Linked DNA regions of Homo sapiens: all the other regions are linked to region 1. Evidence: promoter capture Hi-C in human tissues and cell types (Jung and others, 2019). All regions are on one chromosome and are shown on one strand. The core of a region is centred on a gene start or on the middle of the fragment in contact, and the rest is flanking DNA. Distances in the headings are between cores, read along the strand shown. Region 1 holds the start of SLC25A1 (solute carrier family 25 member 1). Region 2 overlaps HIRA (histone cell cycle regulator). Region 3 overlaps HIRA (histone cell cycle regulator). Region 4 overlaps DGCR5 (DiGeorge syndrome critical region gene 5). Region 5 overlaps LOC105372859 (a long non-coding RNA gene).

Region 1 (5,382 bases), core at 1,324-3,823:
TTGTCCTCAGTGCTTCTCAGGTGAAGTGTCTAGGTGCCAGGTGACTTGTCTCTGAGAGCCACATGATCTCTCTGCTGGTTTGGAGGGGCGGGCAAACTAGACTGGCCAGAGCCAGAAGCAGACAGTGTTCCCTGCACATGGCCCCAGCCCTGCAGGTCGGTAAGTGGCAGTGTCCCTGTATCCAGAGGAGGACTTGGCCCCCCATAAGCAGGCCACATGCACAGCCTGTAACAACTGACTGCCCCAGTGCCCACTGGGAAGCTCTGGGGGCCCCACCTGGCGTTCCATCTCAGCCCAGCTACCGAGGCTTCACCTCTCCATGCCTTGCTGCATTCTAAAAGTGCATGGGGTGTGGGCTGAGCCACTCCACATCTGCCCATGTGCACCTCCTCCACTGTCATTCTCCTGGAGGCCCTGTGTCCTGACCTTCCACTCCACTTTCACCTAGAGGCCGGACTGCACTCTGTCAAGCGGGTGCTCACGTGCTTTTGCCTCCTTGCAGGTGGACAAACTGGATGCCTTGGAGAGTCTGCGCAAGCAAGAGGAGCATGTGACAGAGCCTGCCCCTCTCGTGTTTGGTAGGTGGCACCTGTAGCCCCCAACCCCCTGGGGAGGGAGCAGGGAGGGAGTCAAAGTCCCACTGCCCTTACCTGGCTGGGCTTTGGATGGGGATGGGAATAGATGGGTGGGGGCTGGAAGGATCCCAGTGGCTACTGGGTGTGGAGAAGTGTACGCCCAGGAATGTTGGCACGGCCGCTGTCCTCCCTGCTGTAAGGATGCCTGCCTTCTGATAGGGGTGCCTGCCTAGCTGTGAACTACTGCTGTGTCCTGCTGGGCCTGGCCCCTGGACAGCAAGGCTGCTGCTGGTGTGTGCTGGGAGGGGCTTTGCACCTGAGAACCTGCCCAGGGCAGCCTGGCTGTCGAGCAGACTGGAGAGGCTGTGGGGTGCTTGGACACTGTGGGGCAAACACAGGCCTGAGGGTGTGGTGTGAGTGTGCAGCACGCCGGCGGGTCTCCAGCGTCCGGCTGAGTGTGTCCTTCCACCATTAATGTCATTCTGGTTTTTTTAGATTTTGATGGGCATGAATGAGACCCAGCTGATTGCACTAAGTAAGTGTCCCATTTGGAGACTAGCTTATCCTCTAGCCAGGCCAGGTTCTCTGGCTGACCCCACGCTCCTTGCCTCTGGATGCCTGCTCTCTTGGGGCCTCAGCGTCTGGGTGGTAAGGGCTGGTCCTATAGACCCTGCTCCCTGGGCCCCGGGCTACTCAGGGGCAGCCAGGAGAGGACCCCCATGGGCAGGAAGAGCTCTGCTCATTGTGGGCTTCCCCCTCTGCAGGCCCTGCCGTGGGCCCAGCCCCTGCCAGCTTCCCCTATGGATATGCCTCTGCTCCCAACTTCGCCAGCCTCCAATGTACAACTTCCGCGTGTAGTGGGCGTTGTCACCACCCACCCTACCTGCAGAGTTACTAACTTCTCCAAGGAGCATGTCACTCCAGCAGCACAGGGGACGCAATGGGAGGCAGGGACACCTGGACAATATTTATTTTTGCTGAAACCCAATGACGGCAACCTCTGAGCCATCCCAGAGCCTGGGGAGGCCAGGGTAGAGGCTGACGGCGCAAGACCAGCTTTAGCCGACAACAGAGACTGGACTGTGGGCCCTCCTGCTGGAGCCAGGCCTTCCTCCTGGGCGCCTCCGACTGGCTGGAGCTGCCCCCTCCAGGCCAGTTTGAAGACTACATGAACACGTCTTGTTTGGAGGTACCGGACCTCATAAAAGGACTCTCAGCCTCTTGGCAATCATAAATATTAAAGTCGGTTTATCCAGGCAAAGGTGCTCTGCTTGGTGCTGGTATGGGTAGGAGGGACGGGCCAGTTTCCTAGGCCCCGCAGTCCATTAAAGATTTGCTGGGTCCTCTTTGGGGTGTGGGACCTCCGTTGCCCAGACAAGCTGCCTAGGAGAATACAGCCGCTTGCATTTGTGGTCTTTCCTGACCTTGTTCGCTGAGCGCAGAAACTACAACCGGGAAAGGTGTGGGTGGGAACCGGCAGGTGAGGCCCGGCCCGTGGCTGCTGCGGGAGGGGGGCCCGGCGGCGTAGCCCCTTCTCACCGGCCTCCCGCCTCCCGCCTCCAGGTTTGAAACGTTAGAGTTCCTCTGGGACTGGGCTAGCCCCACGTGTTTTCGGGGAGGGTGTGCCCCTGGCCTCCGGGATCCCTGGGGATCCCGCCGCTCTCGACAGTCGCGCAGACCCGAGGCCCGCTATCCCGCGGCGCGGCACACAGTGCACCTTGACCCACTGCTCGGAGCTGGGCCACGGCTCCGCCTCCCGCAGCCCCGCCCCCGTCCCGCCGCTCGCGGTCGCCCAGGGACTCGGCCTCGGCCATTGGCTGCGCTTTGGCCCCGCCCCTACGCCTGCCTCGGCGCGCCCCGCCCAGGCCTCAGTTTCCCGGCCCGCACGGGGCGGGCTGGGGGCGGGGCCTGGCTCGGACCACGCGGGGCGGGACCTGGAGCTGACGCGGCCGCCCCGCCCCTGGGACCATAACCGGCCGCCGCCGCCACCGCGGACCGAGCGCGGAGTTCTGGAGTCTCGGACCCGAAGCCGCCACAGGGCGCCCCGCCTCCCGCCCGCCATGCCCGCGCCCCGCGCCCCGCGCGCTCTGGCGGCCGCCGCGCCCGCGTCCGGGAAGGCCAAGCTGACGCACCCGGGGAAGGCGATCCTGGCAGGTGGGCCCCTCCGGGACGCGGACCCCTCTCCCGCCGCGCTTCTGGGTGGGCCCGGGACGCTGAGGCCCCGCCCCACTTCCGGGTTGGGCCGTGGGCTGGGGAGTCGTGGAGGCGCGGTCCTGGTCCCCACCCGGCGCGCTGGGACTCGCCCGCCTCCCGTCTGTCACCCCCTGCGCCTCGCCGGGACAACGGGGTGAGGGCATGGGGGCGTGGGGCCCCAGCCTATGTTCCCCGCGGCACTGGCGCGGCGGCCGCGCCGACCGAAGTCCGGGACGGGGGAGGGGCCCGAGCGCCAGCGGCCGGGCGGGAGTCTCAGGAGCGGGTTCCCGGTCCCTGCAGGCGGCCTGGCGGGTGGCATCGAGATCTGCATCACCTTCCCCACCGAGTACGTGAAGACGCAGCTGCAGCTGGACGAGCGCTCGCACCCGCCGCGGTACCGGGGCATCGGTGAGGAGGGGGAGGCCGCGGCGCCGCGGGGGGCGGGTACCCAGGGCGGCGGCACCGAGGGCCGTGGGGTCCTGACCGCCCCCTCCCCCAGGGGACTGCGTGCGGCAGACGGTTCGCAGCCATGGCGTCCTGGGCCTGTACCGCGGCCTTAGCTCCCTGCTCTACGGTTCCATCCCCAAGGCGGCCGTCAGGTGAGGCCCGGCCGGTGGCTGCTGCGGGAGGGGGGCTCGGCCGCGGCAGCCCCTCTCACCCGCCTCCCGCCTCCAGGTTTGGAATGTTCGAGTTCCTCAGCAACCACATGCGGGATGCCCAGGGACGGCTGGACAGCACGCGTGGGCTGCTGTGCGGCCTGGGCGCTGGCGTGGCCGAGGCCGTGGTGGTCGTGTGCCCCATGGAGACCATCAAGGTGGGGAAGGTCCTGGCGAGGACCCCGGACACGCAGGGAGTACGGAGACGGGCGGCCCCGCTGGCCCGGTGCTCCCGGGGCAACCGGCAAGCTGGGGAGGGTCTCCTGGACGCCAGGGAAGGCCGGCGGGGTGACCGCGGGGCCCTGGGGCAGGACGCCTGCCACGAAGGGCCACCCGTGGAGGCTGAGTCTATGCTAAAGGCAGCCTTAAAGTCTTTAAAAAATACTTTTATAAAGCAGAAAACAAAATGACACCTTCACTGCCAAAACTGGAAAAGAGCAGCAAACATAAAGGGAGAGGCTGCTCACAGGGCTGCCCTGTGTCCCAGAGCATGGTCCGTGTGGGCTGCCCTGTGTCCCGGGGCATGGTCCGTGTGGGCAGCCCAGGGCGGCCTTGGCTGCACTGCTTCCTGGGGAAGAGTTCCCAGTTCCCTCCACCCTGGATGGGCCCTGGGCCTGCCAGCTAGCCAGGACCCACCCAGGTGGCAGCCGAGAACCTGCGCCTTTGCTTCTCTCTCTCAGGTGAAGTTCATCCACGACCAGACCTCCCCAAACCCCAAGTACAGAGGATTCTTCCACGGGGTTAGGGAGATTGTGCGGGAACAAGGTGAGCCACTCGACCTTCCTGATAGGGCTCAGGGACCTGGGCCAGGGTGGGAAGGGCCTGCACCTCCCATCCTGCCTTGGGCTTTGTGCAACACCCACCCCCCACACACACCAATTCCCAACCGGGGCCTGAGAGGCTGCAGGGTAACCCCGTGCCTGCCTTCCCGCAGGGCTGAAGGGGACGTACCAGGGCCTCACAGCCACTGTCCTGAAGCAGGGCTCGAACCAGGCCATCCGCTTCTTCGTCATGACCTCCCTGCGCAACTGGTACCGAGGTGTGTCTGCATCACAGGGCCCCATCTCTGCACATGGCCAGCTCCTCTCCTCTCCTTGGGGCCACCCCTGGGTGGCGGGCACCCACCTTTTGAAGTGCTGATCCAGGCCCCTCCCGGCACCCTCTGACCCACCTCACCCCTCCTATATCCAGGGGACAACCCCAACAAGCCCATGAACCCTCTGATCACTGGGGTCTTCGGAGCTATTGCAGGCGCAGCCAGTGTCTTTGGAAACACTCCTCTGGATGTGATTAAGACCCGGATGCAGGTGGTGGGGCCGGGAAGGGGAGGGGAAGGGGGGACCAGGCCAGAGCTAGCTGCTGAGCCCCTGCCTGCTGATGTCCCCCATAGGGCCTGGAGGCGCACAAATACCGGAACACGTGGGACTGCGGCTTGCAGATCCTGAAGAAGGAGGGGCTCAAGGCGTGAGTGGGGGAGGGGCAGGGCTATTGTCCCCACCTCAAACCTTTCCCGGCCTACCTGGCCTGCCCACTCTGTCCCCTTCAGGCCTCTGTGCCTCTCACTTCAGTATCTGGGGATTGCCCTGTGCAGGGACACTGTGCTGACCTGCCTTCCTCTCCCCGCCCCTCCTCCCACCCAGATTCTACAAGGGCACTGTCCCCCGCCTGGGCCGGGTCTGCCTGGATGTGGCCATAGTGTTTGTCATCTATGATGAAGTGGTGAAGCTGCTCAACAAAGTGTGGAAGACGGACTAAGCCTAGAGAGGCCGCAAGGGGACCGCCCCAGGCACCGCCAGAGTGTCCTGCTACCTTTGTCTCACGATTCCAGTGCAGTAGTGCCAAAAGGCCCCTTCCCACGTCCCTCGAGCTCTGTAGCCTGGTCTGTGCATTGTGGCTGTCAAATCCATGTGTCCCCCCTGTGGTCTGTGTGTGACACCACCACTGTGTCCCAGTGTCTG
Region 2 (5,382 bases), core at 1,860-4,359, 220 kb before region 1:
GGAAGATGAGTGCTGGGGGCCAGTGAGGAGATGACATTTGAGGGAAGACTGGACGGCAGTGAGGGGACAGCCAGTGCGAAGGCCTTGGAGCATGGACATGTGCTTACTGTGCCCAGTGAACCCCTGGGAGCTGGGGCGGGGGAGGAGGGTGCGGGAGGCAGTGTGCCTTTGAGACCGTGGCAGAGGCTCTTCTCTGAGCAAGAATATGAAGTCTCCGCAGGGATCTAGGCAGAGGAGTTGAGACCTGTGGCAGCAGTGTGGATTCTACCATGGGGGTCTCAGGGCTGCACTGGGAAGACTAGTAAAGGAGCCGCTCCGAAAAACAAGGGAGAGACAATGGTGGTTTGGAGTCATAACACAGAAGTGGTGAGAAGTGATCAGAGGCGGATTTCCTGGTGCATTGAATATGGGATGTGAGATAAGCAGAGGAGTCAGGATGGCTTCCCGGACTATGGTCCAAACAGTGGAAAGGATGCAGTGGCTGTAACCTGAAGCAGGAAGTCTGCAGGTGGGACAGAAATGTTTGTTAAGGGAAGTGTTTTCAGAGTTTGGTTTTGGATATGTTAAGTTTGCCAGTGTAAATGGACATACTGTGTAGACATTTGGAAATATGAATCTTGGAAATATGAGGTTCTGGGTATGAGCAGAGTCCAAGGATGAGCCTAGGGATTGGAGAGCTGAAACCAGAAAAAGAAGCTAGAAGGAGAGGCCAGTTAAGACAGTGAAAAGAAGCGAGGCATGAGGATCACTTGAGGCCAGTAGCTCAACAGCCTGGGCATCATAGCGAGACCCTGTCTCAGCAACAACAACAAAACGGACAGTGAAGAGAGTATTTGAAGGAGAGGGGAACAGGCAGCGTATTGCTTATTGCTGAGGGGCAAAGTGAAGACCAAGGATAGACTGCTGGGCTTGACAGCATGGAGGGTGCTGGGGGCCTAGGCAAGTGCAATATTCATGTGGTGTCATTGGGCCAAAGGTGTCATTGGAGAGTACTCAAAAAACACTAGGAGAGGAGCTGAGCTTTGTCAGGCGTGTAGGAAGATGGAGGAGAAGAAAAGGGGGAGTGGTGGTGGGCTCTCAGCTGGAGGAGAGAGGTAAGGACCAGGTGGTTGGCAAGTGGTGAGGGGACGGCAGCATCAGTAGATCGGAGTTCCTGGTGGCGTGAAAGTGCTGTTGGAGCTGAGGGTGAGCTAGGAGCACGGGGCTGATGGTTGGCCTGTGGGAAGGTTGGAATTGAGACAGATTGCAGTGATTTGTCATGGAAGGCCTCTGGACATGACCGTGGGGTGAAAGTAGTGGAAGCCACGGTCATCAGAAGGGAAGGAGGAATTTAAGGAACCAAGAGCCTGGAGTGTTAGAAGAATCATCCTCTTGGAGTCACCAAGAATGATGGTGAGAACAGTGGCCAGAAATGTAAATCTACAAGTGAGGGGAGGGTCTCCTGTGTGTGTAGATGCACCATAAAAAGGAGGTGCTATATAGTCTGAAGACAGAAACTCCAAACTGGGAGTTTAGGAGAAAATTATGTCATGTATGTGGATTTACTCAGCAGTGATTCTAAAGGATCGTATCTGGAAGGATAAGAATGTTACGGATGAAAACATTCAAAGTTCCAGTGATAGAAACATCATGGGTTTGAGGGTAAACTCGTAACACTGAAAGAGGCTACAGTATACCTAAGAAGTTGGTGTGTTGTGAAAGGAGGCATCGCTTATCAAAATGGATTCTTCCTCACATGGAGCATAGTAACTGTTAAGCAGTTAGTGAGGAGAAATTAATTTCAATCCTCACCAAATACAGCACACACCAAACCAGATACTAAAGAGAGAAACATTCTAAATAACTACACAAGGAAAAAATAGAATTGAATATTTACCAGACCTCTAGCAGAGAGAATATTTTTCAAGGTTAACAAGGCAATAGAAGAAATCACAAAGGAGAATAACAGACTTTACTCCATAAAACTACTACAGTATAAAAAAGTAGAGAGGTGAAATTTGCAGTTAATAGCTGCATTATATGTGTCTGTGGAGATTGCTAAGAAAATCCCTTCTCCTTTCTGGGCTCCCACCTAACCACATATTCTCTGTTCTAGGATGTGGGCACTCCCCTGCTGTCCTGGCGTTTGCATGTGTGCCCCTCCAGGACTCTCAGTTACTAGAGAAAGTTGTTGTTTTCTTCATTTTTGTAGGCACTGCATTTATGTTGTTAGACCCACTGCCCGAAACACTTCCCAGTAAATGGTCACAATAAGTCAGCAAATCAGTCCAAAAACACATTAGATAAGAGACAAACGCTTTCACTAATAATCTAATTAAAAATTTTAAATATAAAATTGTATTGAATAAATAAGTCGGAAGGGGAAAAAGTCATCATCCTCAATGCTAATAAGGGAGTTTTGAAGCAAACAGTCTGCATGTAGAAATGTAAAACCACAGGGATCTTGGAAAAGCAGTCTACAGTTTTATGAGAATCCAGACCTATGAGGATGCTCAGATATTCTGCCCAGGATTCCCACTCTAGGGTATGCGTCTCAGAGTAATAATCTGGAGTATGGAGAGTGACAAATACACACGGGCCCAAAAAACCAGAATCCAGTTAATCTTCAGTGTTAAATTAGGTCAATTAATAGTAGTGAATACTCTCAACCACATAGAATGCAGGGCAAAAAAGGAAAGAAGCTGTGAAGATCACATAGGCATTTAGAATACAAAATGTGAACCACAGCATGTGAGACAATTTGAAAAAAAAAAAAAAACCTGTTAAGCTGTTACTATAGTTTTTTTTTAACTGGAAAAAATACAATAGATATTTGGAATATTTTGCTTAAACCTCTTGTACAAAGAAAGGACTTGATAGCTATTACCTTGCTGCTATGTTTGTTTCTTCAACTCACCAATCATTCTTCTGTATACCTAGCACTGCACCAGGCGCTGAGGTTAGAGAAATAACTAAGACTGCGCCCTTCACCCCTGATGGCAGGATAGGCAAGGTTGGCACCATCGTCACAGCGGACCCTCATCGATGCCTTGGTGTGTGCCTGGCATGGTGTTGCAGCAGTTTATCACATTTAATCCTTACAGTGACCCTATGAGGATAGGTTTTGGGGTTTTTTGTTTCATTGGTTTTTTTGTTTGTTTTTTGAGACAGGGTCTTACTCTGTTGCCCAGCCTGGAGTGCAGTGGTGCAATCATGGTCACTGCAGCCTTAACCTCCCTGGGCTCAAGTGATCCTCCCACCTCAACTTCCTGTGTAGCTGGGGATACAGGCATGTGCTACCAAGCCCAGCCAATTTTTTGTAGAGATAGGGTTTTGCCATGTTGCCTAGGCTGGTATTGTACCTCTGGGCTCAAGCGATCTGCCCACCTCAGCCTCCCAAAATGCTGAGATTACAGACGTGAGTCCCTGCACCTGGCCTAGATTTTGTTTTTTAATCTGCACTTAACAAATGATAAAATGGAGTCACAAAGAAGTGAATGTGAATAATTCTGTTTGGAGGCTCCATAGTGAAGGGGTACTCCTGTCAGGGTCTGGGAGATGAGACCCAGTCCATGAACCAGACGAGGGCCTCAAGATGACTTGTGTTCAGTTGTCAGCAGCCCTGGAGTTCTGACTGTGCCAGGCATTCTGCCATGTGCTTTACCCACTGTGTCTCATGCTCAGAAGGCTCTCGGAGGAAGGCCCTGTTATGATTGGCAAAGCAAGTCAGCAGGGCTGAGGAGCATGCTCCAGGCCACAGACCCACGAAGTAGCAGGCTCTCATGCATGGGTGTGGTGCCATATGGTGCCCAAGCTCTGAACCACGCCCTCAGTTGCTTCGTCTGTAAAAGGAGTGAGGCACTGGGGTCGGTTAGATGCTTTAAATTTATGACCAATTGAAAAATTCTGGGGGGAGTTTTTTCAGGTTGGTTAAAAAATACCAGAGTGGTTATGATGGTCCCAGGTCCCAGGGGCACTGGCCAAGCTAATAGACAAGGGCATCACCAGGTAAGAGATCTCACCAGAACCCTCTGTCTTCTTTCAGATGTGATGGATGTAGCATGGTCTCCCCACGATGCCTGGCTAGCCTCATGCAGCGTGGATAACACTGTCGTCATCTGGAATGCTGTAAAGTTCCCAGGTCTGGGGCCTCCTCTGACTGGTTAACAGCAAGCAGTACTGCCTGTCAGTTTCTGGAGCAGGGGTTGGGCTGTCTCCTTAGTCTTGGTGGCAACAGATGTGTCACAGTGGCCTAGGATTTATGTGTCTTGTCAGTTTTTCTTTGTCAGTTACATTTGTTTAAGCTTTAAAAAGAGATTCATGCTTAAGAAAAATGGTAACTGAGTGCTAGCATGGCATGCCACAGATCAGGAGGGTAATGGATGGGCAGCTGTTGTTGGGGACCCTGATGCTCCTAAACCTGCTGTGTGCACCCCCACCACTGGGCTCTGGGCTCAGCTCAGTCACCATCTCCTCTGTGAAACCCTTGAGCAGATACGGGCTAACACAAACCCAGTTTTGCAAAAGATTGATTTTTCTTATTCATTGTGTTTAAAGTCACAACAGATGGCATAACCTGGCACAGTGCTGCAGTTTATAACTAGTAAAATTCTTCTCATATTTCAGCTCTGTATTTGAAGTATGCTTTCCTTATGGATCCAGGTCATTTTAACTCTTTGAAAGCCACCAGCATGTGTGGAAACACTCAGTCTGGCTATGGAGAGGGAAGCTTTAGAGACCGGAGTAGCATTTGGATTACAGATCTATATGGGGTACCGTCGTACACACCTTTGTCTTCAGCCATAACTTATAAAAGACTCAGCCACAGTCAGGCCCTTTGAGCTAGTAGGCCTCCTCCTTATCAGGGAGCTACCAGGGAGGCTAACGTCAGAAGTGCTGGTGTCACAGCCCAGGAAGGGCAGCCATAGGCAGGGCCGCTAGATACAGATAAGACCTGGATCAGAACTAGCCCCTTGGTGCCTGCCTCCTTGATGCTGTCATTTCTTCAATTGGCTTTTGCCTTGGTGGAGATCAAATGAGGAGGCCCTTCTGCTTCTGTCTGGTGTGGGGGCTGGCCATGGCAGACTGCTGAGTCCCCTCTCTTGCATATCCATCCCATGGCCCATGGATTGCAGGTCATGTTTCCCTCAGACAACACCTCTCCACATTCCTTTTTTCTTCACAGAAATTCTAGCTACTCTGAGAGGTCATTCTGGCTTGGTCAAAGGGTTGACATGGGACCCTGTTGGTAAATACATAGCTTCTCAAGCTGATGACCGCAGCCTAAAGGTGTGGAGGACGCTGGACTGGCAGTTGGAGACCAGCATCACCAAGCCTTTTGATGAGGTAAGTGGGGACAGCTCAGGGAGCTGAGCCCCCGCAGCTGCCCCAGCCTCTTCCTGA
Region 3 (5,382 bases), core at 1,968-4,467, 200 kb before region 1:
TTTATTTTTTAATATTTGGAAATAGTTGGCCAAAACTTTTGCATTCATTTATGTAACTCTGCTTTGCCAGAATCTTTTGAAGAAACAAGTTGAGACTCGGACAGCAGATGGCCGGAGAAGAATCACGCCTCTCTGCATAGCACAGCTGGACACTGGGTACTGGTTCATTCCCCTTTCATGGTCTTATCTGGCGAGATCTTCCTGTCTTCTTTCAGCGGTTAACACTTTCACAGTGAGGATCTTCACGGGTCCTTCACAACCTGACTGGTAGAACATGGAAGCAAGGAAGTGAAGCTCAGCTTCCCGCAGTCTCAAAGCCCATACTCCTCCTGGAGCCCTTGTGCACACCTGAATCATGTGAGGGGTGGGAGTGCTAAGGCGGCCAGCACATCTGCTGCACTTCACTGTTGCCAGGGCACCAGAGGACGCACAAGGAAAGCAGTCAGTCAGGCTGATTTTTTTTTTCTTTTTTTTCTTTCATAAAGTTATTTTTATGATTATGAAAGGTATATTTACACATGGTTAAATTTAGAAAATAGTAAAAGCCCAAAGAAGAAAAAAACATTATCCATAATCAGATACAGTCACTGTTAATGTTTTTATATCTGTATTTCCAGTCTTTTTTTTCCCCACTCGTTACTGTTTCATGCCCATTCATCCATTTTAATAACTAGTCCTCTGAGGTGTTTGCTATCTGATTATCCAGATTCCCATCCTAGGATTTGCTTAGCCAGCTCACTGTAGACTTGTGTTTGTGTCCAGTTTCTCGTGATTATAAATGAGTCTTTGAGCTCACCTGTGGTTGTTCTCTCAGGATAACTTCTAGAAGTGGAATTACTGGGCAGAGAGTAGGGCTCCCAAACATATTTCCCTGTGGGGGACAGAGAAGGGGGAAGAGACTCATTCACCACTTGCTGTTGTCCCAGTGTATATAGTGAAGATTGTTTTTGAATTGGTTATTCTTCCCAAAATGATGTGTGTTGATTCAAAAAAAAAAAAAAAAAGAAAGAAAAATGATAAAGCACTGTGTGAAAGAAATAGACCCCCACTGTCAAGGCAGTTCACTCTGGGTTTTATTCTCATTCCGTCTATCTGCTCAGGGCATTTGTAAGCCCTTCATGGAGGCCACACACTTTAGGCCTCTGCGTTTTGCAGTTGTCCATCCACGAGCTATTCCAAATCTTCCTTGGTGTCTAAAGAAACCTTCACTCGTACAGTGTACAGATCCAGTCTCCTCATGTTAGATGTGCAGGCTCTGAGGTCCCCACGAGTAGAGCAAGAACCAGGTCTGCTGGCTCCCCACAGAGCACTCATTTTCTTTTGACTAAGTCTTTTTCCTATTGTGACCCTGTAGGGGGTAATGCCCCTACCTACCTTTTATTGAGACCAAGTGAGACCCAGTGTGTGGTTGAGCTCTGAACATACTGGGCCTGTGGGATGGGGAGGTGGTGGTGGTGATGGTGACACTTTGTTCTGTGGATCCTTCCAGGCGTTACCTGGTGAGAAGGTGTAGGTGGCTTCCTAACTGGTCTGGGGCCAACTTTCTGACATAGGATGCATATTTCTAGCATCAGGACCTGATCCTTTTGGTATTAAAAGCTTTTTGCCCTCCTGATTCCCACGTTCTAACACGTAGCAACAGGATAGGTCCTTATTAGCTTAGCTAATCAAGAAAGAAGAGAAAAAGCATAAATATACAAAGTAGGTATAAGTGAGAAATAATAGACAAATCAAAAAGATGAGAGACTTCTTTGCTGAACTCTGTGCAAATAAATTTGCACAGAAAGTGGATGGTTTTTGAAGAAAATAAAATTACTAAAAGTGAAAAATTATTGTGGAAGAAATAGAGGACAGAGTTAACCCCACCAAAGCCACCGGACTAAGATGGCTTCACAGGGAAACTTCAGGAACTTTTAAGGAACAGGTAACTCAGGTAACTGTTAATACCATTTTAAATATTCTAGTGCATGGAGAAGAAATGTGCAAATTTTTATTTTGAAATGAACATAATATATCAAAATCTTACAAGGATAAAACATAATAAATTCAAGATCATTCTCATTTCTGAATGTCAGTGCAAAATCCTAAGTAAAATAGTAACAAACAGAACCTTACTGCTTGTTAAAAGGCTAATATACCATGACCAAGTGAGGTTTGTTTTGGGAAAGTAAGGAGGTTCAAATTTTAGGTAACTATTTAATTCTACGTATCAGTAGATCAAAAGAAAAAAAATTATATGATCTCTCATCGATGCTTAATAGGCGTTTTGGTAAAATTCAACGTTGTTTTAAAACTCAGTTAAATGGGAATAGGTGGATGCTTCCTTAACTTGATAAATTATCTTATTTCAAATTAAGTTCAAAAACTAAACAAATGCCTACTCTTGCAACTATAATTTAACATTGTTCTATAGGTCCTAGCCCATGTAGTTAGTCAAAGGAAAGAACAAATTGGAAAGGATAATTATTTAAGGATGATATGGTTTATAAGAGAATCAACTGGAAAAGCTGCCATAGGCAATGAAAGAAGATAGTCACATGGCAGGATACAATCAACATGAAGTCAGGTAGCACCAACTACCCTCAGAGCACATAAAGAAATAAGTCATATTCACAAATAAAATAACTAGGATGCAACCAGAGATGCATATCTTAATGAAGAAAAAATTAAAAACCCTACTGAGAGGCTTCAAAGAAAACTCAAAGAAATAACTAGAAATTCATACCATTGATTAGCTAGGATGGCATCATAAAGATGTCAGCTCTCTTGTAGCCTATAAATTTAACCAGTACAAATAACCGTAGGAATTTTGGGAATCAGACAAGGTAACTATAAAGTTATGTGGAAAAATCGACTGGGCACAGTGGCTGACAACTGTAATCTCAGCACTTTGGGAGGCCGAGGCAGGCAGATCACCTGAGGTCACGAGTTTGAGACCAGCCTGGCCAACATGGTGAAACCCCGTCCCTACTAAAAATATAAAAATTAGCTGGGAGTGGTGGTGCCCACCTGTAGCTACTGTAGCTACTACCTGTATCCCAGATACTTGGAGGCTGAGGCAGGAGAATTGCTTGAACCTGGGAGGTTGCAGTGAGCCAAGATAGTGCCACTCTCCAGCCTGGGTGACAGAGTGAGACTTTGTATCAAATAAATAAATAAATAAAATAAAGTTATCTGGAAAAATAAATAGGAATGGCCGAAATATTTCTGAAAAAGAAGATTAGCCAGGGAAGACTAGCCCCACCAGAAATTAAGACTTAAAAGCTGTCATAACTCAAAACAGTGAGATACTGACACATGAGTAGATAGTGCAGTGGAATATGATAGAATATGAGGAAACAGGCCCGAATATTTATGGGAATTTTAAAGGTAGCATTTCACATCAGTGATAAAACATTGGCTAATTCGGTAAATGGAAGACAGGACTACATGGCACCTCCTAGAAACAATGTTGGGTCCCAGCCTCATAACTTATCATTACATACATTCTAAACAGCTTATAGTTTGTTTCTTTTTAAATTGTTATTTAAAATATTTTTGTTTAAAATTTTAGAAGATTCCCTGGAAGAATATTTTTTATAATCTCAGAGGTCAAAAAAGTGTTTTCTGTAAATGACAATTTAGAGTACACAAAAATTTTAAAATTTTAGTGCATTTAAAAGATAGGCTGTCTGGGCGTGGTGGCTCACACCTGTAATCCCAGCACTTTCGGAGGCTGAGGCAGATGGATACAAGGTCAAGAGATCAAGACCATCCTGGCCAACATGGTGAAACCCCGTCTCTACTAAAAAATATAAAAATTAGCTGGGCGTGGTGGCACGCCCCTGTAGTCCCAGCTACTTGGAAGGCTGAGGCAGGAAAGTCACTTGAACCCAGGAGGCAGAGGTTGCAGTGAGCCGAGATTGCGCCACTGCACTCCAGCCTGGCGACACAGCGAGACTTCGTCTCAAAAAAAAAGGCCATAAATAGTTGAAACACAACATCCCAGGTAAAATATTTCCTACCATATAAGGAATTTTTTTAATATGTAAATGATTTTTACAAATCAGTAATAAAGACCAATAACAAAACAGTAGACAAAGCATATGAACAAGCAGTTCACAAAAAAAAAAAAAAAGAAATCAAGTATTTCTTTTTTTTTTTTTTTAATTGAGGCGAAGTCTCACTCTGTTGCCCAGGCTGGAGTACAGTGGTGTGATCTCAACTCACTGCAGCCTCTGCCTCCCTGGTTCAAGAGATTCTCCTGCCTCAGCCTCCCAAGTAGCTGGGATTACAGGCGCCTACCACCATGCCCGGCTAATTTTTGTATTTTTAGTGGAGACGGGGTTTCACCATGTTGGCCAGGCTGGTCTCGAACTCTTGACCTCGTGATCCACCCGCCTCGGCCTGCCAAAGTGCTGGGATTACAGGCATGAGCCACTGCGCCTGGCCGGAAATCAAGTATTTCTACTTTGAAAAACTGCCGGCCGGGCACGGTGGCTCACACCTGTAATCCCAGCACTTTGGGAAGCCAAGGCGGGCGGATCACGAGGTCAGGAGATCGAGACCATCCTGGCTAACACGGTTAAACCCCGTCTCTACTAAAAATACAAAAAATTAGCCGGGCATGGTGGCGGGATACTCGGGAGGCTGAGGCAGGAGAATGGCGTGAACCCGGGAGGCGGAGCTTGCAGTGAGGCGAGATCGCGCCACTGCACTCCAGCCTGGGCGGCGGGAGAGACTCTGTCTCAAAAAAAAAAAAGAAAAAGAAAAAATGTCAACGTCACTCATATCAAAATAAGATACCATTTTTCTTCTGTCAGATTGTTAAGTGTCAAGAAATTTGATAAAAGTGTTACTAAGCACCTATGTGGAGAAATAGGCGCTCTCATACATGGCTTGTAATTTAAACCTCTGAGGAGGGCACTTTAGAAATATTTATTCCAAATCATCAGTGAACATTTCATTTGCTGCTACAATTCCACTTCTAAGAATTTATCCCATATATTATGTGAATCTTAGGTGTAATGACAATTATTAGAATTTCATAATTCTTTGAGCAGCCAATGTGTGTTCTAAGAGTGTCCTACACCAACTGCTTTAGTCCTGACAGCAACCCCATGGGGAGAGTCCTGGCACTTTGTATTTTGCAGACATGACTGGAGGCACAAGAGTAGTTAGAGCAAGTCACAAGCTAACAAATGGCAGAGGAGTCAGACCTGGCTGTCCCAGAATCCTCAGTTCTGACACTGCAATACCTTGCTTCCTGGTGCAGCAGCATCTGTTCTAGAAAAAGCTGGAGACAGTCTTGTGGTCCCTCAGTAGAGGCTGGGTTAGGTATATTATGGCACACCCATCTAGTGGCATGCCCCATGGCCCTTCATGAAAGGGAGGCCCTTTCTG
Region 4 (5,382 bases), core at 1,746-4,245, 170 kb after region 1:
AGTTTGAGCAAGGGTTATGCTGTCTAAATGATCATATTACTTGATAAAGACCATTTGCAATATTTATATTTTATAAAGACAATGTTTAAAATATGAGCTTTAAAAAACACTATGGATAATAAATTGGCTGTAAATTTATTATTCTAAAAAGTAGTGAAGAAATGTTTTCACTTCCTCTAGAAATGAAGGGAACACAGAGGAGTTAAAGATCTGTGGGGAAAAAAAATAAAAACTACTTTTTATCAAAAGAACCCAAAAGTTTTGTCTCTTTGGCATGAGTTAGCCAACCGATTTACACTATCTCCTATCTGGAACCATGCCCTCTCTCAGATAATTGTACTGAATTTATTTGTACAAATCAAAGTAGTTTATAAGTAACTAATCTCTAAAGTCTCTTCCAGTTCTAAATGTCAGTGACTCCATGTGGAGTGTATTTCTGTTATTCAATTATGAAAGTTCTAATACAGTACCATTAGGTTAAGAACAGGCAGAAAAGGCTGGGCACAGTGGCTCATGCCTGTAATCTTAGCATTTTGGGAGGCCGAGGTGCATCACTTGAGCCCAGTTCAACACCATCATGGGCAACATAAGGAGAATCTGTCTGTACAAAAAATTTAAAAATTTAACTGGGTAAAGTGGCACATGTCTGTAGTCCCAGCTATTGGGAAGGTTGAAATGAGAGGATCGCATGAGCCAAGGAGGTCAAAGCTGCACTGAGCCGTGATCACGCCACTGTACTCCAGCCTAGGCAACAGAGTGAGACCCTGTCCCCACCTGCCCCCCCAAAAAAAAGAGGCAGAAAAAGGGATCAATATTTTCAATGAATTAAACAGAATTTAACTCTGGTGATTTATGATTTAGGGCTGTCACATTATGAAATCTAGAATACATAAAAAGAGAGAGAGACACTGCACTAATTTCATTAATTTCAAGGACTGTTCATATTCTTTTTTTTTTTTTTGAGACAGAGTTTCGCTCTTGTCGCCCAGGCTGAAGTGCAGTGGCACAATCTCGGCTCACTGCAACCTCCACCTCCCAGGTTCAAGCTATTTTCCTGCCTCAGCCTCCTGAGTAGCTGGGATTACAGGCGTGCGCCACCACGCCCAGCTAAATTTTGTATTTTTAGTAGAGATGGGGTTTCACCATGTTGGTCAGTCTGGTCTCAAACTCCTGACCTCAGGTGACCCACCCACCTTGGCCTCCCAAAGTGCTTGGGATTACAGGCATGAGCCACTGCGCTTAGCCTTTTTTCTTTTTCTTTCTTTCTTTTTTTTTTTTTTTTTGAGACAAAGTCTCACTCTATCACTGAGGCTGGAGTGCAGTGGCATGATCTTGGCTCACCACAATCTCCCCCTCCTGGGTTCAAGCGATTCTTCTGACTCAACCTCCTGAGTAGCTGGACTACAGGCGTGTGCCACCACGCCCAGCTAACTTTTGTATTTTTAGTAGAGATAGGGTATCGCCATGTTGGCCAGGCTGGTCTCAAACTCCTGGCCTCAAGCGATCCGCCTGCTTCGGCCTCCCAAACTGCTGGGATTACAGGTGTGAGCTACCACGCCTGGCCTGTTCATATTCTTTAAGACTTGTTTCTGTTCACAAAAACTGGCCATCAACTATGATGCCAAAAAGTCACACAATGAAAGTCATACCACTTTCCTGCCAATTTGTCCCTCCTCTATTAGCCAGTAAATAAACTCAACATATTCTTATATTTTCAATCTTCTTTTATATCCTGCTAATAAAAGTAAAATTGTCTTTGAACTAATCTTTCTTCCTCCGTAAGTTAAATATTCTTTCATTTGATAATAATTACATTGAAAACCACCCTCCATTGTCATGTCAACGTGGATTACTCATCACACTTCTCTGGTTACAATTTGCCTTTGGGTAATGACAAAGTTAAATATACACAAGGGCACCAAATCACAAACTTTGCACTTATAATAATTAAGACAATACAGCACTGGCACAAGAATAAACTAGTAAAACAGTCTCTGAAGAAGCTGCATATTTATAGACACATGTTTTATAACCAAAGCAGCAATGCAGAAAACAAGAGTCTTCCAGCAAATAGTGCTAGGTCAAGTGTATACACAAAGGGGGCAAAGATAAATGCTGAGACCTATTTCACACCATATCAAATATAAAGTCCAGGGTTTTCTAACTACGATTTTAAATCTGAAATTGTAAAACAAAGACTTGATCGATGTGACTACATAAAAATTAAAATCTTAAAAATAAAAAATCCTTTTAATTAAAAAAAGTGAAAATGTTATTGCATGACGAGAAAACCATCATAAATAGAATTTAAAAACATAAAAAACTGGGAAAGTATATTTGCAATATCTCACAAGTAAATGCTTAAGGTCCCTAATACATCCAAAATGGTTTAAAATTGAAGGGAAAAAGACCAAAAAAAGACAGAAGAATGAGCAAAATGAATGAATCACACAATCAATTTACACACACACACACACAAATACAGAAAATGATGATCAACCTAACTCATAATGAGAGAAATGCAAATTAATCAGCACTTGTCACTTATCAGGGTGCACACCTGTAATCCCAGCACTTTGGGAGGTGGAGGCGGGCGGATCGCAAGGACAGGAGATCGAGACCAGCCTGGCCAATATGGTGAAACCCTGTCTCTACTAAAAAAAAAAATACAAAAATTAACTGGGTGTGGTGGTGCATGTCTGTAATCCCAGCTACTTGGGAGGCTGAGGCCTGAGAATCGCTTGAACCCGGGAGGCGGAGGTTACAGTGAGCTGAGATCGCGCCATTGCACTCCAGCCTGGGTGACAAGAGAGAAACTCTGTCTCAAAAAAAAAAAATCATTCAGCCATAGAAAGGTGTGAAGTACTAACACATGCCTCATGGAAGAACCTAAAAAAAATGATACCTGAAAGATGCCAGTGACAAAAGACCACAAATGATTCCTGTTACATGAAATGTCTGGGACAGGCAAACCCATGGTGGCTGCCTAGGGCTGTGAGGTGGTGAGAATATCCTAAAATTTATTGTGATGATGGTTACACAACTCTGTGCATACATTAAAAACCACTGAACTGTCCAACTTGGTGAGTTGTATGGTATGCAAGTTATAAAAAAAAATAACACAACTAAATCCTAGAAACTCAACTTTCAGGAGATAATTGTATAAGGTATCTGTGGTAGCCCCATAAGCTATTGATGTCTTACTCTCTGGAACCTCTGAACATGTTCACTTACATGGCAAGAGAGTTTGCAGATGTGATTAAGAATTTTAAGGACAGGAAGATGATCCTGAATGGTCCAGGTGGACCCAATCAAATCACACAAGACCTTAAAAGCAGATAACCTATGGTCAGAGTGACGCAATGTGACAACTTGACCAGCTGTTGGCTTTGAAGATGGAGGAAGGGGCCACAAGCCAAAAAACATGGCTGCCTCTATAAGCTGGAAAAGGCAAGGAAACAGATTCTCCCCTAAAGCCTTGAGAAAAGAACACAGCTCTGCTGACACCTTGATTTTAGTCCAGTAAGAGCCATGCTGGACTTCTAACCAACACAACTCTAAGCTGAAAACTATGTGTTGTTTTAGCCACTACATTTGTAGTAATTTCAATAGTAACAGAAAACGAATACACTATACTATAAATAATTTGTTTTATATAGAAAAGAAAATGAATCTAATGGATCTTAATAAATCATCTGGAATAAATGAAGAAGAGTAAAATATCAGAAACATGTGACATAAAAACCTCAGAACCACAGATAATTGGGGCAACAACATTCCTGAAAATACCAAAAATATTTTTTATTAATTTTTGCTGAAGTATAATATACATGAAGTACCCAAATGATAAGTACAGCTAAAAGCATTTTCACAAAGTGAATACACCATGTAGCCACCTCCCCCAAATCAAGATACAGAATGTAATCAGAATCCCAGAAAGCCTCCCTCAATTCCCCTAAAGATAACCACTCTTCTGACATATTATAATAGATTAATTCCCACCACTGTTTTGGCTTCATTTAAATGGAATCATAGTTCAGACTCCCGTGCATCTGGCTGCTTCTGCTCAATATTATGCGTGTGAGATTCATCCACGCTGCTGCATGTTGCAACAGTTTGTTCTTTTTTTTTGCTTGTTTTGTATACCTTATATATCACAATTCATTTGTCCATTCATGTCTTGATGATTATTTGGGTTGTTTCCAGCTTTTGACTCTTAAGGAGACTATTCAACTTCAGCAGATAGTGCCAATGTTTTCCAAACTGGCGAGAACAGTTTAGAGCCCTATCAGCAGGGTGCAAGTGTTCTTGTTTCTCTGCTTCCTTGCCAACACTTGGTATTATGAGCTTTTAAAATGAGGCATTCTGTGTCTAATCTGCTGCAGGCACAGCAAAGCCTGGCTATAATTTTTATTTATTTATTTATTTATTTTTGACACAGAGTCTTGCTCTGTCGCCCATTTTGGAGTACAACGGTGCAGTCTCAGCTCACTGCAACGTCCGCCTCCTGGGTTCAAGCAATTCTTCTGCCTCAGCCTCCCAAGTAGCTGGGACTACAGGCACATGCCACCACACCTGGCTAATTTTTGTATTTTTAGTAGAGACAGGGTTTCACTATGTTGGCCAGGCTGGTCTCAAACTCCTGATCTTGTGATCCGCCCGCCTCGGCCTCCCAAAGTGCTGGGATTACAGGCGTGAGCCACTGTGCCTGGCCACTGTACTTTATTTTTTAAATGCTAATAAAAATTAGATCCTGAAATTTTTTTCACTTGCTATTAATTCTCATATTTTACATGCATCTTTGTTAGTATTTCCTACATCATAATCATGTCTGCAAATAGAATTTTATTTCTTTCTTTCCAAGTATTATACTTCTTATCTCTCTTTCTGCCTTTCTGCCCTGACTAGAACTTTATTTTTTAATTTTTTGTAGAGATGGGCATCTAACTATGTTGCCCAGGTGAGTCTTGAACTCTTGGCCTCAAGAGATCCTCCTGCCTCAGTCTCCCAGTAGAGCTTTACATACAACACTGAATAGAAGTGATGAGAGCAGGGTCTTGTCTCTTTCCTCATCTCTGGAAGAAAGCTTTCAATAAGTCACCATTAGGCTTAATGTCCACTATAAATATTATTTTGTGTAGATACCCTTTATCATCTTTTTAAAAGTCCCTTTATTCCCAGTTTGTTAGAAATTTGTTCTGTGGGGGTTTTTTTGGAAACTAATAAACAGGTGTTGAATTTTATCAAATGCTTTTGTTCATCACTTTGATTAGATCACATTTTTCCCTCCACTTTGAGAACTTACTCTGAAGGATTTTAATTCATTGAAATTTTTTGAGAGTGCATGTGGCCAATTCTGATGAATATACTGTGGCCAATTAA
Region 5 (5,382 bases), core at 2,040-4,539, 140 kb before region 1:
GTCTGTCTTTCTTTCTTTCTTTCTTTTTAAACAGAGTTTCATTCTTCTTGCCTAGGCTGGAGTACAGTGGTGTGATCTTGGCTCACTACAACCTCTGCCTCCCAGGTTCAAGTGATTCTCCTGCCTCAGCCTCTCAAGTAGCTAGGATTACAGGCGCCTGCCACCACGACTGGCTAATTTTTTGTTTTTTTTTTTTAGTAGACACGGAGTTTCATCATGTTGGCCAGGCTGGTCTCGAACTCCTGACCTCAGGTAATCCATCTGCCTCGGCCTCCCAAAGTGCTAGGATTATAGGCGTGAGCCACCACACCCGGCCTTGTTCATTTCATCTAAGCTACAATTGTTTATAGTATTTCTTCTTTTTTTTTTAAACCCTCATTCTCTATATATAATAGTATTTCTTTAATTTTTAATTAAAAAGTTTTTTTATAAAATTTCTTTTGAGATGGAGTCTCACTCTGTCACCCAGGCTGGAGTGCAGTGGTGCAATCTTGGCTCACTGCAAGCTCTGCCTCCTGGGTTCACGCCATTCTCCTGCCTCAGCCTCCTGAGTAGCTGGTACTACAGGTGCCCGCCACCATGCCCGGCTAATTTTTTGTATTTTTAGTAGAGATGGAGTTTCACCGTGTTAGCCAGGATGGTCTCGATCTCCTGACCTCGTGATCCACCCGCCTCGGCCTCCCAAAGTGCTGGGATTACAGACGTGAGCCACTGCACCCGGCCCACAAAGTATTTTCTAATTTCCCTCTTGATTTCTTCTTTGACCCATTGGTCATTTAGAGTGTGCTGTTAAATTTCCACACCTTTGTGGGTTTCCCAACTTCTCGACTTTCTTTCTGTTATTGATCTAATAGTATTCCGTTGTGTTTTTAAAAATACTTTGTATTATTTCTATCCTTTACATTTACTAAGGTTTGATTTACAACCTAGCATATGCTGTACCCTGGAGAATGTTCCTTGTCTACTTGAGAAGATGTGTATTCTACCTAAGTGGGGTTGTGTTGCTCACGTATGGCCACACCACTTCCCTTTCACCATTCCACTTTCTTAACCCATGCTAACCACCAATCTGTTTTCCATTTCTGTAATTTCCTGATTTCAACAATGTTATGTCAATGTCATGCTTACCTAACCTACTGGATTTTTTTTTCACTCAGAATAATTATCTGGAGTTAATTTAAGTTGTTGTGTATATTATTACTTCATTAGTTTTTATTTATTGCTAATGAGTATTTCATGGTTTTGCTGCACTGTTGATTTAACCATTCATCTGCTCAGGACATCAGGGCTAGTTTCAATTTTTGGTGATTACAGTTAAGCCCTGATATTAAATTTTTTGTGTGAACATAAGCATTTGATTTTGTGGAAGCAATTCCCAAGAGGGCAACTACTGGGTCTTATGGTAGCTGCAAGTGCAGTTTTTTTCAAGATGACAAAGTATTTTCCACAAAGCTGTACCATTTTACATTCCAACAATGGATGAGTGATCAAGTTTTTCCACATGCTCACCAGCATTTGTTGTCACTATTAATTTTAGCCATGTTGACAGGTGTAACTTTAGTTTGCATTTCCGTAATACCTAATGATGTTCAACATCTTTTCATGTGCTTATTTGCAATTCATAAATCTTCAGTGAAATATAGTAATTTTCATGTCTTTTCCCCTTTTTTTGAGACAGTCTTACTCTGTCACCCAGGCTGGAGTGCAGTGGTGTGACCACAGCTCACTGCAGCCTTACCCTCCAAGCTCAAGTGATCCTCCCAGCTCAGCCTCGTAAGTACTGGGACTACAGGCAGGCACAACCATGCCAGGCCAATTTAAATTTTTTTTTGTAGATGGGATCTCACTACACTGCCTAGGCTGGTCTCGAACCCCTGAGCTGAAATGATCCTCCTGCCTTGGCCTCCCCAAATGTTGGGATTACAGGTATGAGCCACCATGCCCAGCCTGTTATGTCTTCTCGAAGAATGGATCCCTTTGTCATAGGGATCATGCCCCCTTTGAGCATAGAGTACTTCATAATATTCCTTTACTATCTCACTTTCCACTGTGATGTAATGTGTTGCGGGAAGTCAGGGACCCTGAACGGAGGGACCGGCTAAAGCCATGGCAGAAGAACATAAATTGTGAAGATTTCATGGACATTTATTGGTTCCCCAAATTAATACTTTTGTAATTTCTTACACCTGTCTTTACTGCAGTCTCTGAACATAAATTATGAAGATTTCATGGACACTTATCACTTCCCCAGTCAATACCCTTGTGATTTCCTATGCCTGTCTTTACTTTAATCTCTTAATCCCATCATCTTTGTAAGCTGAGGATGAATGTCGCCTCAGGACCCTGTGATGATTGCGTTTTCTGCACAAATTGTTTAAACAATGTGAAATCTGGGCACCTTGAAAAAAGAACAGGATAACAGCAATGTTCAGGGAACAAGGGAGATAAGCTTAAAGTCTGGCTGCCTGTGGGCCGGGTGGAACTGAGCCATATTTCTCTTCTTTCAAAAGCAAATAGGAGAAATATCACTGAATTCTTTTTCCCAGCAAGGAGCATCCCTGAGAAAGAGAATGTATCCCTAAGGGGAGGCCTCTGAAATGGCCGCTTTGGGGACGTCTGTCTTTTATGGGCATAGATAAGGGATGAAATAAGCCCCGGTCTCCCGTAGCGCTCCCAGGCTTATTAGGATGAGGAAATTCCCGCCTAATAAATTTTGGTCAGACCAGTTGTCTTTTCTCAAACCCTGTCTCCTGATAAATGTTATCAATGACAATGCATGCCCAAAACTTCATTAGCAATTTTAATTTCGCATTGGTCCTGTGATCTCACCCTGCCTCCATTTGCCTTGTGATATTTTATTACCTTGTGAAGCACGTGATCTCTGTGACCCACACCCTATTCATACACTCCCTCCCCTTTGAAAATCACTAATAAAAACTTGCTGGTTTTGCGGCTTGGGGGGCATCACAGAACCTGCCGACATGTGATGTCTCCCCCAGACACCCAGCTTTAAAATTTCTCTTTTGTACTCTTTCCCTTTATTTCTCAGACCAGCCAACACTTAGGGAAAATAGAAAAGGACCCAGGTGAAATATCGGGGGCTGAATTTTACCCGATAGTAATGCCCCTTTTATCCATGATAAAAATATTAGCAAATCAAATCCAACATTGTATGAAAAAAATACAACATGACCAAATGGGATGTATTCCAGATATGCATACTTGTTTAATGGTTGAATATAAGTTATTGTAATCAATCACATCAATTAAGTTAAAAAAGAAAATCATGATTATATCAATACATTTAGAAGAAGCATTTGACAAATCTAACACCTATTCATGATAAAAACTCTCAGCAAACTAGGAATAGAAGGGAACTTTCTCAATTGATGAAGAACATCTACAATAATTCCACTATGTATGTATGTATGGCTAACATCATACACTACTTAATGGTGAAAAATTATATGCTTTTCCCCTAATATCAGGGAAAAGGCAAGGATGTCTCTTGTCACCACTCCTATTCAATATTGTACTAGAAGTCTTAGCTAATACAATAAGACAAAAGAAGGAAATAAAAGTATAAAAATTAGGAAGAAGGAAATAAAGTATAAAAAATTGCAGATAACATGACTATCTATGTACAAAATCCCAAAGAATCAACAAAAAACTCTGAGAACTAGTAAGTTATTATAGTTACATTGCAGGATATAAGGTTAACATACAAAAGTTGATTGCTTTTCTTTAACCAACACTGAACAATTGGAATTTGAAATTGAAAATTTAATACCTCTTACATAAACACCAAATAATCAAAATACTTAGGTATAAATCTAACAAAATACATACAAGCTTTATATGAGGGAAACTACAAAACTCTGATGAAATAAATAAAAAATCTAAATTAATAAATGGAGATAAGTTCCATGTTCATGGGTAGGAAGACTCAACATTAATGTGTTAGCGCTTACCAATTATAGATTCAATTTAATTCCAATAACGATTCCAGCAAGTTATTTTGCAGATATTGACAAGCAAATTCTAAAGTTTGTATGGAAAGTCAAAAGATGCAGAATAGCCCACTCAATATTGAAGACAAGCAGGGCCAGAGTACTCACACTACTCAACTTTGAGACTTACTATGAAGCTACAGTAATCAAGACAGTGTGACATTGGTAAAGGAACGGAGTAGAGAACCCATAAATAAACCCAAACAAATGAAATCAACTGATCTTTGATGAAGGAACAAAGGCAATTCAATAGAAAAATATTAGTCTTTTCAATAAATACTGCTCTAATAAATGCACCTGTAGTCCCTTCTACTCAGGAAGTTTTGCATTTTACACATGCAAACATAAAAAAAAGAATCTAGACAGAAATTTTTAACTGCTGCTCTGAGAACATCATTGCTAAGAGAATGAAAACCCACAGACTTGGAGAAAATATTTGCAAATAACTTTTCTGATAAAGGATTTGTATCCAATATATACGAATAACTCCCAAAATGCAAAAATAAGAAAATAAGCATTCCAGTTTAAAAATGGACAAAATATCTGAACGGAGCTCACCAAAGAAGATATACATATGGCTATAACCATATGAAAAGACGCTCTACATCATATGTCATTAGGGAATTACAAATTCAGAACACAATGAGAATTAGCTGGGCATGGTGGCATATGCCTGTAGTCCAGCTACTTAGGAGGCAGAAACAGGAGGACCTCTTGAACCCAGCAGTTTGAGGCTGCAGTGAGCCATGATCATACCACTGTACTCCAGCCTGGGCAAGAGAGTAAGAACCCATCTCTAAAATAAATACATAAATAAATAAATAACAAAAACAACAATGAGAAACCACTATACACCTATTAGATAGGCTAAAATCCAAAAACCTGACAGTATCAAATGCTGACAAGGATGTGGACATAGAAAAACAGGAATTCTCATTCATTGCTCTTGAGAATACAGCCACTTTGGAAGATGATCTAGTAGTGCCTTCCAAGCTAAACATAGCCTAACCATATGGCCCAGCAATTTCACTCCTAGGTATATACCAAAATTAGTTGAAAACTTATATACACATAAAAACCTACACATGAATGTTTATAGCAGCTTTATTCAAAACTGCAAAAACTGGAAGAAATCAAGATATCCCCTCAATTGGTGAATGAACAAACTGACACATTCATACATTGGAATATTATTCAATGATAAGAAATGAGCCGGCTGGGGGCAGTGGCTCAGGCCGGGCACGGTGGCTCATGCCTGTAATCCCAGCACTGTGGGAGGTCAAGACAGGCAGATCACCTGAGGTCAGGAATTCAAGACCAGCCTGGCCAACATGGTGAAACCCCTTCTCTACTAAAAATACAAAAATCAGCT

Evidence for each region. Contacts are between HindIII fragments. The study calls those that stand out against the background at their distance.
Region 2: a fragment that was not itself captured here is called in contact with the fragment with the promoter of SLC25A1 in region 1 in 5 of the 25 tissues and cell types used here (dorsolateral prefrontal cortex, lymphoblastoid cells, mesenchymal stem cells and 2 more).
Region 3: a contact is called between a fragment that was not itself captured here and the fragment with the promoter of SLC25A1 in region 1, in 2 of the 25 tissues and cell types used here (mesendoderm cells and spleen).
Region 4: a contact is called between a fragment that was not itself captured here and the fragment with the promoter of SLC25A1 in region 1, in 2 of the 25 tissues and cell types used here (lymphoblastoid cells and mesenchymal stem cells).
Region 5: a fragment that was not itself captured here is called in contact with the fragment with the promoter of SLC25A1 in region 1 in 7 of the 25 tissues and cell types used here (H1 embryonic stem cells, IMR-90 fibroblasts, dorsolateral prefrontal cortex and 4 more).

What each region holds. Positions count from the first base shown.
Region 1 is chr22:19,175,927-19,181,308 of GRCh38, reverse strand. It overlaps SLC25A1 (solute carrier family 25 member 1), which reads left to right and starts at 2,573. Exons shown (of 9, transcript NM_005984.5): 1 at 2,573-2,729; 2 at 3,069-3,176; 3 at 3,268-3,367; 4 at 3,444-3,582; 5 at 4,105-4,189; 6 at 4,359-4,463; 7 at 4,616-4,731; 8 at 4,815-4,888; 9 at 5,065-5,382. The coding sequence starts at 2,636. The coding sequence ends at 5,179. CLTCL1 (clathrin heavy chain like 1) reads left to right here. Exons shown (of 33, transcript NM_007098.4): 31 at 503-578; 32 at 1,071-1,110; 33 at 1,340-1,836. The coding sequence ends at 1,090. RefSeq lists silencers at 1,977-2,076, 2,277-3,356 and an enhancer at 2,528-3,275. The HindIII fragment of the contact is 9,906 bases long and covers 1-5,382 here.
Region 2 is chr22:19,396,730-19,402,111 of GRCh38, reverse strand. It overlaps HIRA (histone cell cycle regulator), which reads left to right. Exons shown (of 25, transcript NM_003325.4): 6 at 4,025-4,120; 7 at 5,165-5,325. Among named protein-coding and RNA genes, the nearest start is that of HIRA, 32 kb to the left of the region's middle. The HindIII fragment of the contact is 4,821 bases long and covers 699-5,382 here.
Region 3 is chr22:19,378,394-19,383,775 of GRCh38, reverse strand. HIRA (histone cell cycle regulator) reads left to right here. Exons shown (of 25, transcript NM_003325.4): 13 at 71-156. Among named protein-coding and RNA genes, the nearest start is that of HIRA, 51 kb to the left of the region's middle. The HindIII fragment of the contact is 6,067 bases long and covers 184-5,382 here.
Region 4 is chr22:19,007,798-19,013,179 of GRCh38, reverse strand. All of the region lies in intron 4 of DGCR5 (DiGeorge syndrome critical region gene 5), which reads right to left. Among named protein-coding and RNA genes, the nearest start is that of FAM246C, 19 kb to the left of the region's middle. The HindIII fragment of the contact is 8,579 bases long and covers 1-5,382 here.
Region 5 is chr22:19,317,609-19,322,990 of GRCh38, reverse strand. All of the region lies in intron 1 of LOC105372859 (a long non-coding RNA gene), which reads right to left. Among named protein-coding and RNA genes, the nearest start is that of CLTCL1, 29 kb to the right of the region's middle. The HindIII fragment of the contact is 4,176 bases long and covers 1,202-5,377 here.